Regions from separate parts of the Homo sapiens genome. Here all the other regions are linked to region 3. The links are contacts of gene promoters, found by promoter capture Hi-C in human tissues and cell types (Jung and others, 2019). All regions are on one chromosome and are shown on one strand. The core of a region is centred on a gene start or on the middle of the fragment in contact, and the rest is flanking DNA. Distances in the headings are between cores, read along the strand shown. Region 1 overlaps TMED10 (transmembrane p24 trafficking protein 10). Region 2 has its middle 4.3 kb from the start of TMED10. Region 3 holds the start of PGF (placental growth factor).

Region 1 (2,972 bases), core at 254-2,753, 170 kb after region 3:
CGATTTGTGAAAAGTTCCTACTTTAAGAGAGCTTACATGTAACAGAAAACCACCAGGCAATTAAAACAGTTTCTATAAGGGCTATTAAAGTGCAAGATTCTAGAGAGGCATTTAGGAGTGGCATCTGTCCAAGCCAAACTTGCTGTGTGAGTGCAGGAATATACAAAATGTTAAGTCTAAACAAAGTAGAGAGATCATTTCAGGTAGAGGCCATTCCATCTACATCCTCCTATTAATTAGAAGGCACTTTGAGGATAGGTATTGCCTCTTGTTTATCTAGATAAACTCCAGAGTTTAGTTTGGCTTAAATCTGTTAATTCTATTAACTTAATTCTGTTATTCTCGATTAACTCTGTTAAACAGAAAAGATGCTCAATAAATTGTTTCTCAGTTGAATGGGAAAAAACCAATTACTTAAAATTGGGAATGCTGACTTTCAAAGAGGCTGAATAGATTTCAGCCTAAGCTTAAAAATTCATTTTTTTCTGGCACCTTTGCAACGAGGAACTAGTTTTCTATAACGTGGTTGGCCTGAAACTGAATTGTTCTAATGATAATGCATAGATACTACAAGCCTAGAAGAAACATGTCCTATTATAGAGCAGAGACATTCCTGCTGAATTCTTCATTATATTGGATATAACTGAAACTAATTGTCTTACCTTTGAATATTTATAAGTTCAAAAATAGTCAACATTTATTCTAATGGTATAACTTTTTTTTTTTTTTTGGAGACAGTCTCACTCTGTCACTCAGGATGGAGTGCAGTGGCATGATCTCAGCACACTGCAGCCTCCACCTCCCAAGTTCAAGTGATTCTCATGCCTCAGTCTCCTGAGTAGCTGGGATTACAAGCGTCCGCCACCATGCCCAGCTAATTTTTGTATTTTTAGTAGAGAGGGCATTCTGCCATGTTGGCCAGGCTGGTTCTCGAACTCCTGACCTCAAGTGATTGGCCTGCTAAAGTGTTGGGATTACAGGTGTGAGCCACTGCACCTGGCCAAGGTGTAAAATTTTAAAGCGCCTTTGGTTGAAACCAAACTATTTCCACATTGTACTTTAACAAGTGAATGGTTAGAATGCTATTTTGCATTAGTTTCCAATTTGTGAATGGCAAATTCCCAGGGGCCATAGAGTTACTGTCAAGATGAAAGAATCTACCAAAGACCAACCCAAGTTTATACCCTTCACTGTCTGCCACGGTAGCCATTAGCTACATATAGCTACTCAACACTTGAATTGTGGCTAGTCTAATTTTAAGCTATAGATGCGGTATAGCTTGAAATGCACACTGGATTTTCAAGATTTTATATGAAAAATGGAATGCAAAACATCTCATTAACCATTTTTATATTAACTATATGTTGAAATAATATTTTGGGTATATTAGGTTAAATACACTACTAAAAATAATTTTCGGCTGGGCACAGTGGCTGATGCCTATAATTCCAGCACTTTGGGAGGCCAAGGTGAGCAGACCACGAGGTCAGGAGTTCGAGACCATCCTGGCCAACATGGTGAAACCCCATCTCTACTAAAAATACAAAAATTACCTGGGCGTGGTGGCATGTGCCTGTAATCCCAGCTACTCGGGAGGCTGGAGAATCAGCAAATTTTACCTGTTTTTTACTTCTTTAATGTGATACTAGAAAATTTAAAATTATACATGCAGCTCAACATTTTATGAGACACCACTGCAGCAGACTAAATAAATGATTTATAAAGCATGTATTGGGCCGGGCACGGTGGCTCACGCCTGTAATCCCAGCACTTTGGGAGGCTGAGGTGGGTGGATCACGAGGTTGGGAGTTCAAGACCAGCCTGGCCAACATAATGAAACTCCATCTCTACTAAAAATACAAAATTAGCTGGGCGTGCTGGTACATGCCTGTAATCCCAGCTACTCGGGAGGCTGAGGCAGGAGAATTGCTTGAACCCGGAAGGCGGAGGTTGTGGTGAGCCGAGATCATGCCATTGTACTCCAGCCTGGGCAACAAGAGTGAACTCCGTCTCAAAAAAAAAAAAAAAGAAAAGAAAAAAAAATTATACCCCAATAATGGGAACCACTACTTTACACACTATGGATTCATAATAAAATTTATTTGAGGGAGAATGGAGATAAGAGGATAAATAAGAGGCCAGCCAGTGGGTGTGCAAAGCACTTCATATTGGCTCTTGGAAAGTCGCTTTGTGAAAAATGTTCAACTGTAAGTGAAAGGAGAGGAGAAAAGACGTTTACCTCCTGGAGTGGGGTTTTGCATTGGATATGATAGGCCTAAAAAGTGAGTCCTGAGGATTCATATACCGGGGGTGGGGGGTGGGGGTCTTTTAGGAATGAAAGGCAGGGGAGATGGCTCTCTGTAGGAGTGATTCTATGCAATTGCAATTTTAATTGCAAAAACCACAATTACTTTTGTGCGAACCTAATAGTAACAGTTTCCAAAAGAGAGAAGATAAAGAGAATAAAATGCCTAGCTTACAGAACCATATTTGGTCTGAGGATGCATAATTAAGGATTCTTAATTATATATATATATATAATTTACATATATTACATACAAAATATGATAATCTTTTACTAGCTCATATAAACTATCGATCTGCAGTAACTGAAGAATAACAATATTTTTTCTCTAATTCATCAGGTATAATTTGCCATAATTTAAAAGAGAAATATGGAAGAATTATCACCAATCCAGACATAGAAGTACTCAAGAGTAACAGTACACCTAAAATGGTTTCTGCTAGCCTTTATTTGAGAAAATTTACACAAAAATCCCCAATCCAACATTTACAAGTGAATCTGTATAAATCCCATATGCCTCTTTCCCAAACAAACCAAGAAATGGCTTTATGACAGGGGTCCATGACAATGGTATAACAAGGCTTACTTAAACTGCATCATTCTCATTTATATTATACAGACCATTTTGGATAATATGCTCAAAAATGGAGGAAAGCACATAACACCC
Region 2 (2,700 bases), core at 77-2,576, 230 kb after region 3:
AGATGGAGTCTGGCTCTGTTGCCCAGGCTAGAGCGCAGTGGTGCGATCTCAGCTCACCACAACCTGCCCCTCCTGGGTTCAAGTGATTCTCCTGCCTCAGCCTCCTGAGTAGCTGGGATTATAGGCGCGCACCACCATGCCCGGCTAATTTTTGTATTTTTAGAAGAGACAGGGTTTCACCATGTTGGTCAGGCTGGTCTTGAACATCCTGACCTTGCGATCTGCCCACCTCAGCCCCCAAAGTGCTGGGATTACAGGTGTGAGCCACTGCGCCCGGCTTCCAGTCCTTTCTTGTCCTGTAGTCTTACTTATCCCCATCCTCCAACACCTCCTGTCTTTCTTCCCTCCTTTATAATTTTCCCCTTAGCACTCATTACTATCAAATAAAGCATACATTTTACTTACTTATTGTGTTTATTAGTCTGTCTCCCTAACTAGAATGTCTGTTTTGTGAGGGCAGGGATTTTTATCTATTTTTTCACTGTTTTATCTTCTGAACCTAAAACAGTGCCTAGCACTTAGGTACAATAAATAATGGTACAATGAATTTAAGACTGGTACCTTAGAAAGCGCAACCACAAATTTCTCCCATTATTCTTTAGCTGTTTTCACATAAATTTGTTTAATCCATAATGTATCTAAAGCATAGGTACAGTTTCAGTGTCACCAACATGTCTATCTTTTCTTAAAAAAAATGGAAAATACACTCTTGTTTCTATATAAGGACACAGAAAAACAAACAAACAAAAACAATTCTCCTCTGTATGCTGTGGAATGGAACCAAGACTTTTAAGCCTGCACCTGTGTTAAAGAAGTTACCGGCCGGGCATCGTGGCTCAAGCCTATAATCCCAGCACTTTGGGAGGCTGAGGCAGGCGGATCATGAGGTCAGGAGGAGATGGAGACCATCCTGGCCAACATGGTGAAACCCCGTCTCTACTAAAATACAAAAAATTAGCCCAGCGTGGTGACACGTGCCTGTAGTCCTAGCTACTTGGGAGGCTGAGGCAGGGGAATTGCTTGAACCTGGGAGGTGGAGGTTGCAGTGAGCTGAGATTGCGCCATGGCACTCCAGCCTGGCGAAAGAGCGAGACTCATCTCAAGAAAAAAAAAAAAAAGAAGTTACCATTGGGCCAGACGCGGTGGCTCACGCCTATAATCCCAACATTTTGGGTGGCTGAGGCAGGCAGATCACTTGAGGTCAGGAGTTCGAGACCAGCCTGGCCAACATGGTGAAATCCCATCTCAGCTAGAAATACAAAAATTGGCTGGGTGTGGTGGCTCACGCCTGCATCCCAGCCACTTGGGAGGCTGTGGCACGAGATTCGCTTGAACGCAGGAGGCAGAGGTTACAGTGAGCTGAGATTGCGCCACTGCACTCCAGCCTGGGCGACAGAGCGAGACTCCAACTCAAAAAAAAAAAAAAAAAAGATACCGTTTTACATCTGCATGGTAGAAAGGCCTCATTTGACTTGGAGAGCAAATGGAAAGTGTCCCATAACTACAGTAAATGCTTCTCTCTGGCCAGCAGTCTTCTGCCGTCCTGTCATCCTGAAACTTCCCCAGCCAAATCCACCTAAGATTCCTGAGCCACTGGAGCCTCTGGAGGTGAAGAAATATCATGAAGACACCCTCTGCCAATCTATCCCTAAGCCATAGGTTTCTCAAATTTTCCTTTGTGTAAGAGGGGGCATGTTTAAAATACACCTCACCCCAGATGGTGAATCAGAAGCTCTTACTAAAAATTTGCATTCGGGCTGGGCACAGTGGCTCACGCTTATAATCCCAGCACTTTGGGAGGCTGAGGCAGGCAGATTGCTTGAGTCCAGGAGTTCCAGACCAGCCTGGGTGACATGGCAAAACCCCATCTCTACAAAAGATACCAATAATTAGCTGGACATAGTGGTGTATGCCTGTAGTCGCAGCTACTCTGGAGGCTGAAGTGGAAGATTGCTTAAGCCCAGAAGGCAGAGGTTGCAGTGAGCCAAGATCACACCACTGCACTCCAGCCTGGGTGACAGAGTGGGACCATGTCTCAAAAAAAAAAAAAAAAAAAGAAAAAAGAAAAAAAGAAAAATCTGCATTTGTAACAAGCTTGCTTAGTGATTCTGTGGTTGGGAGTGCTTAGACCCTTTCCTGACACCTCCTTGCACCAGCCTAATCCTGCAGTGTGGCTTGAGACTCCCCAGCTCCATGCAGAAGCCATCAAGGATTCCTGACTTAGTTGTTCCTGCCTACTCATGTGTATAGCACCACATGGAGTGTGTGTTTACATAGCTAAGACAAGATGGGTTTTGTGAGGATACAAAAGACCCCTTTGGAGAGCAATTTGGCAATATTTGCCACATGCCATACTCTTTGACCCAGAGAGTGATTCCAAGGGCCTCTTCAATGGGTCTTCTAAATGTTAGAGTCCCCCAGGACCTGGTCCTGGAAACTTCTGCTGCATTCCAGGTGATGTCATACAATTCCATGACTTTATTTTTATATTTTTTATTTATTTTTATTTTTTTGAGACAGAGTTTCACTCTTGTTGCCCAGGCTGGAGTGCAATGGTGCAATCTCAGCTCACTGCAACCTCCGCCTCCAGGGTTCAAGTGATTTTCCTGTCTTAGCCTCCCGAGTAGCTGGGATTACAGGCATGCACCACCACATCTGGCTAATTGTGTATTTCTAGTGGAGACAGGGTTACTCCATGTT
Region 3 (2,955 bases), core at 137-2,636:
CATCCCAAAGATCTTCCAATCCTGCGGGTCTGCCTTCTACCCAGCCCCCAGGCCAACCCTGCTGGGCCCTGCACAGCCCGCCTTGGCTGGGTGCCAGAGCCCAGGGGGAGGTGATCAGCTGGTGGGAGCTGAGGGGCTGGAGCGGGTGGCGCCATGAGCTGGTGCAGCCGGTAACGTTACACCTCTGGCCAGCCCTGCAGCAGGCAGGCGGGTGGCTGGGCTGCTCGGACTCCTCAGGGACTGCCCAGCCCACTCCTACTCTTGGGCTGGGGCTGGGGACTCCCAGGGCAGTGGGACAACGCAGTGGGAAGGCAGTTCATTGGCTTTGTCAGGATTTCACTGCCCAAGCTGGCTCCCAGCCAGACTCACCCGGCTCCTGGGAAAAGGGCCCTGCTCACTTCCCCAGGCCCTGCACTCAGGACCTCCGGCCACCCACCCAGGAGAAAAGGCACAGCGAGACCCCTTGTCTCGTCCCCAGCCCACCCAGGAGCCCACGGCTCAGTCCTGAGCCCTGGTGGGGGCAGGGCCAGCCTCCCCACCAACAGCTTCTTCAGCTGGCTCCTCCGCCACCCCCACCAGGCCAGGTCAGAGGTCCTGGGGACGCCTGGTTGGCCATGGGGCCTCGACCCTGACCACAAGGCCAGGGACCCGCCTGGGATTAGTGGACAGATGCTTTTAGCAAAGCCACCAGGGCTCCAGGGGCCAGACAGGAAACCTCCCTCCCTCCCTCCCTCCCTGTGGCTTCCCTGCCCCCACCAAGACAGCCCCCAGGACCTGGGGGACAGCCAGCCTGAGGTCTCTTCCCAAACGAAAGAAGTCCAGCCTGGCCTTTAGGAAGTGTGTGGACATCCTTGGAGTTGCTGCTCCCTGGAGTGGGTCTGTGATTTCAGAGTCCCATGCTTCCAGTGCTGGGATGGGGAGGTCTGGGGAGCCAGGCTAGGTGGGGGTAGCTCTTACCTGGGGGGGCACAGCAGGCAGCGCCAGCCCGGCCAGGAGCTGCAGGAAGCAAGGGAACAGCCTCATGACCGGCATCTTCTCAGACGTCCCGAGCCAGGGGGCTCCGAGGGAAAACCACCATGCTCATCCCCCGGGGAGCCCCTGGCACAGGAGGAGAAGAGCTGAGTGGGGGGCTGGACGCCTCCCTCACTGCTGCCCCGAGGCCCCGGCCGGTGGTTCGAGCATCTTCTGGAAGCCTTGCGGAGTCAGGAGCCCGTAGGTAAGGCTGTGGCTGGGGAACCCGACGGGGAGCGGCCCGGCGGGGCGGGGCGCCGAGGGGCAGGCGGGTCCCGGGGATGGTCCGTCGGGCGCCCAGTGCCACTCCAGGTCCTCCCGTAGCTGGGCGGCCGTCCGTCGATGCAGTTTCCTCCGCAGACAGCAGCTCCCTTCTGAGACTGCAGCCGGTCCGCGCCTGGGTTTCAGGGACTGAGCCGGGGCGGGGCTCCGGGCCGGCCCCGCCCACCGCAGACGAGGTTCCCGAGCCGAGTTCCCGGAGCGCCCGGTCAGCCCGCAGCGCCCGGCCAGCCCGCAGCGCCGGAGCCCGCAGTGCGTGCGAGGGGCTCTCGGCAGGTCCAGACGCCTCGCCGAGCCCAGCCCGCAGCTCCCCGGGCCGCGCCGCGCCCGCCCACAGGGCCCACAGCCCTGCTTCGGCTCTCAGGGCGGTCACCTGGGATGGGGGCATCCAGGAGTCCAGCGTCAGCCGTCAAGGCTCATGATCTAACCGCCTCTGCAGGAAGGGCCGTCCGGGATGCCTGGGAAGGCAGCCATGCCCACACCCCTAGGGGGCCAAGGGATTCCTAGCCAGGTTATATAGATGAAGAAACCGAGGCTCCGAGAGCACCCCTGCCTGCATATGTCGAATGGACATAGGCATTCTTGGAAAGTGTGTGTGTGTTGTGTGTGTGCGCGCATCTGTGTGTCCGAGGAACTGGCAGAGACAAAACCCAAGCCTACGTGACTCCAGAACTCTAACCCGACCTACCACCCTCCTAGCCAGGCACGGACACAGTGGGCCTCCCACAGGAAACCTCTCAGGGCACCTGGCTGGAGGATCAGGCCTGTTGCCTCCTTGGGAAGCAGTCTTCCCAGGCCCTCCCTGCGGGGCAGCCCCCTGTGGTAGAGAGTGGTCTCACTCAGGCATCTCCTCCTGGTCCCTGGCCGAGGAGGAACTGTACGCTGCGCGGGGGTCTGTGTGCATCTGCGCGTGTGCATGGGCATTTGCGGGTCTGTGAATATCCATGAGCGGTGCATCTGAGCCTCTGTGTGGTCTGAGTACGTGTGACTACTGTACCTCCAAATACGCCTCTGTGTGGGGGTCAGGTCTCTCTGTATCTCTGTATGCTTGTGTGATCTGTTCGTGTCCGCTGTGTATCTGGGTGTGTTTGGAAGTGTCTGAATGTGTATCTTTCGGTGGGACTGTGAGTCTGCACGCCTGCCTGTCTCTGCGTGTGTGTGTCTGTCTCTGTGGGTGAAGACTGTGCCTCTCTCTCTGCGTTTGTGTGTGCCCTCCCTTGGTTCTGGATCTTTCTTTACCACCACTCCTCTCACTGCCTTCTGTGTCCAGCTCCCAGGCTGCAGGAACCTGGCAGGACTGGGAGTCACGAGTTGGCTGGGCCTGGGGCTGGTGGGTGGCTGTGGGGGAGGAGCGAGGCCTGGGAAGTGGCCCCTACAGCTCACATTCCAGCCAAGAGCAGGGAGGCCAGGGCAGCCCCAGCTCTCACCCCAGTGACCTCTGCGTCCACTGCCTGCCTGCCTGCCCACCCACGAGGGGCTGCCAGAGATGCAGCCTGCCTGCCTGGCCGGCCCTAAGCCTGGAGGTTCAGGAGGCGGGGGCCAGTCACCAGCTGGCTAAGCGGGGTCTGCAAGGAACATCCTGACGAGCTTCAAACAAGCTGGGGTTCGTGGGGTAGACAAACTGCTTCCTGGGCCCAGAATCATTGTGGAGGGTCACTGTGCATG

The links. Contacts are between HindIII fragments. The study calls those that stand out against the background at their distance.
Region 1: a contact is called between a fragment that was not itself captured here and the fragment with the promoter of PGF in region 3, in 1 of the 25 tissues and cell types used here (thymus).
Region 2: a contact is called between a fragment that was not itself captured here and the fragment with the promoter of PGF in region 3, in 2 of the 25 tissues and cell types used here (aorta and pancreas).

Annotation. Positions count from the first base shown.
Region 1 is chr14:75,128,734-75,131,705 of GRCh38, forward strand. TMED10 (transmembrane p24 trafficking protein 10) reads right to left here. Exons shown (of 5, transcript NM_006827.6): 5 at 2,736-2,972. Among named protein-coding and RNA genes, the nearest start is that of NEK9, 3.2 kb to the left of the region's middle. The HindIII fragment of the contact is 3,127 bases long and covers 1-2,972 here.
Region 2 is chr14:75,179,515-75,182,214 of GRCh38, forward strand. No RefSeq gene overlaps it. Among named protein-coding and RNA genes, the nearest start is that of TMED10, 4.3 kb to the left of the region's middle. The HindIII fragment of the contact is 5,531 bases long and covers 1-2,700 here.
Region 3 is chr14:74,954,211-74,957,165 of GRCh38, forward strand. It overlaps PGF (placental growth factor), which reads right to left and starts at 1,387. Exons shown (of 7, transcript NM_002632.6): 1 at 958-1,387. The coding sequence starts at 1,032. RefSeq lists silencers at 1,184-1,253, 1,434-1,533. The HindIII fragment of the contact is 10,779 bases long and covers 1-2,955 here.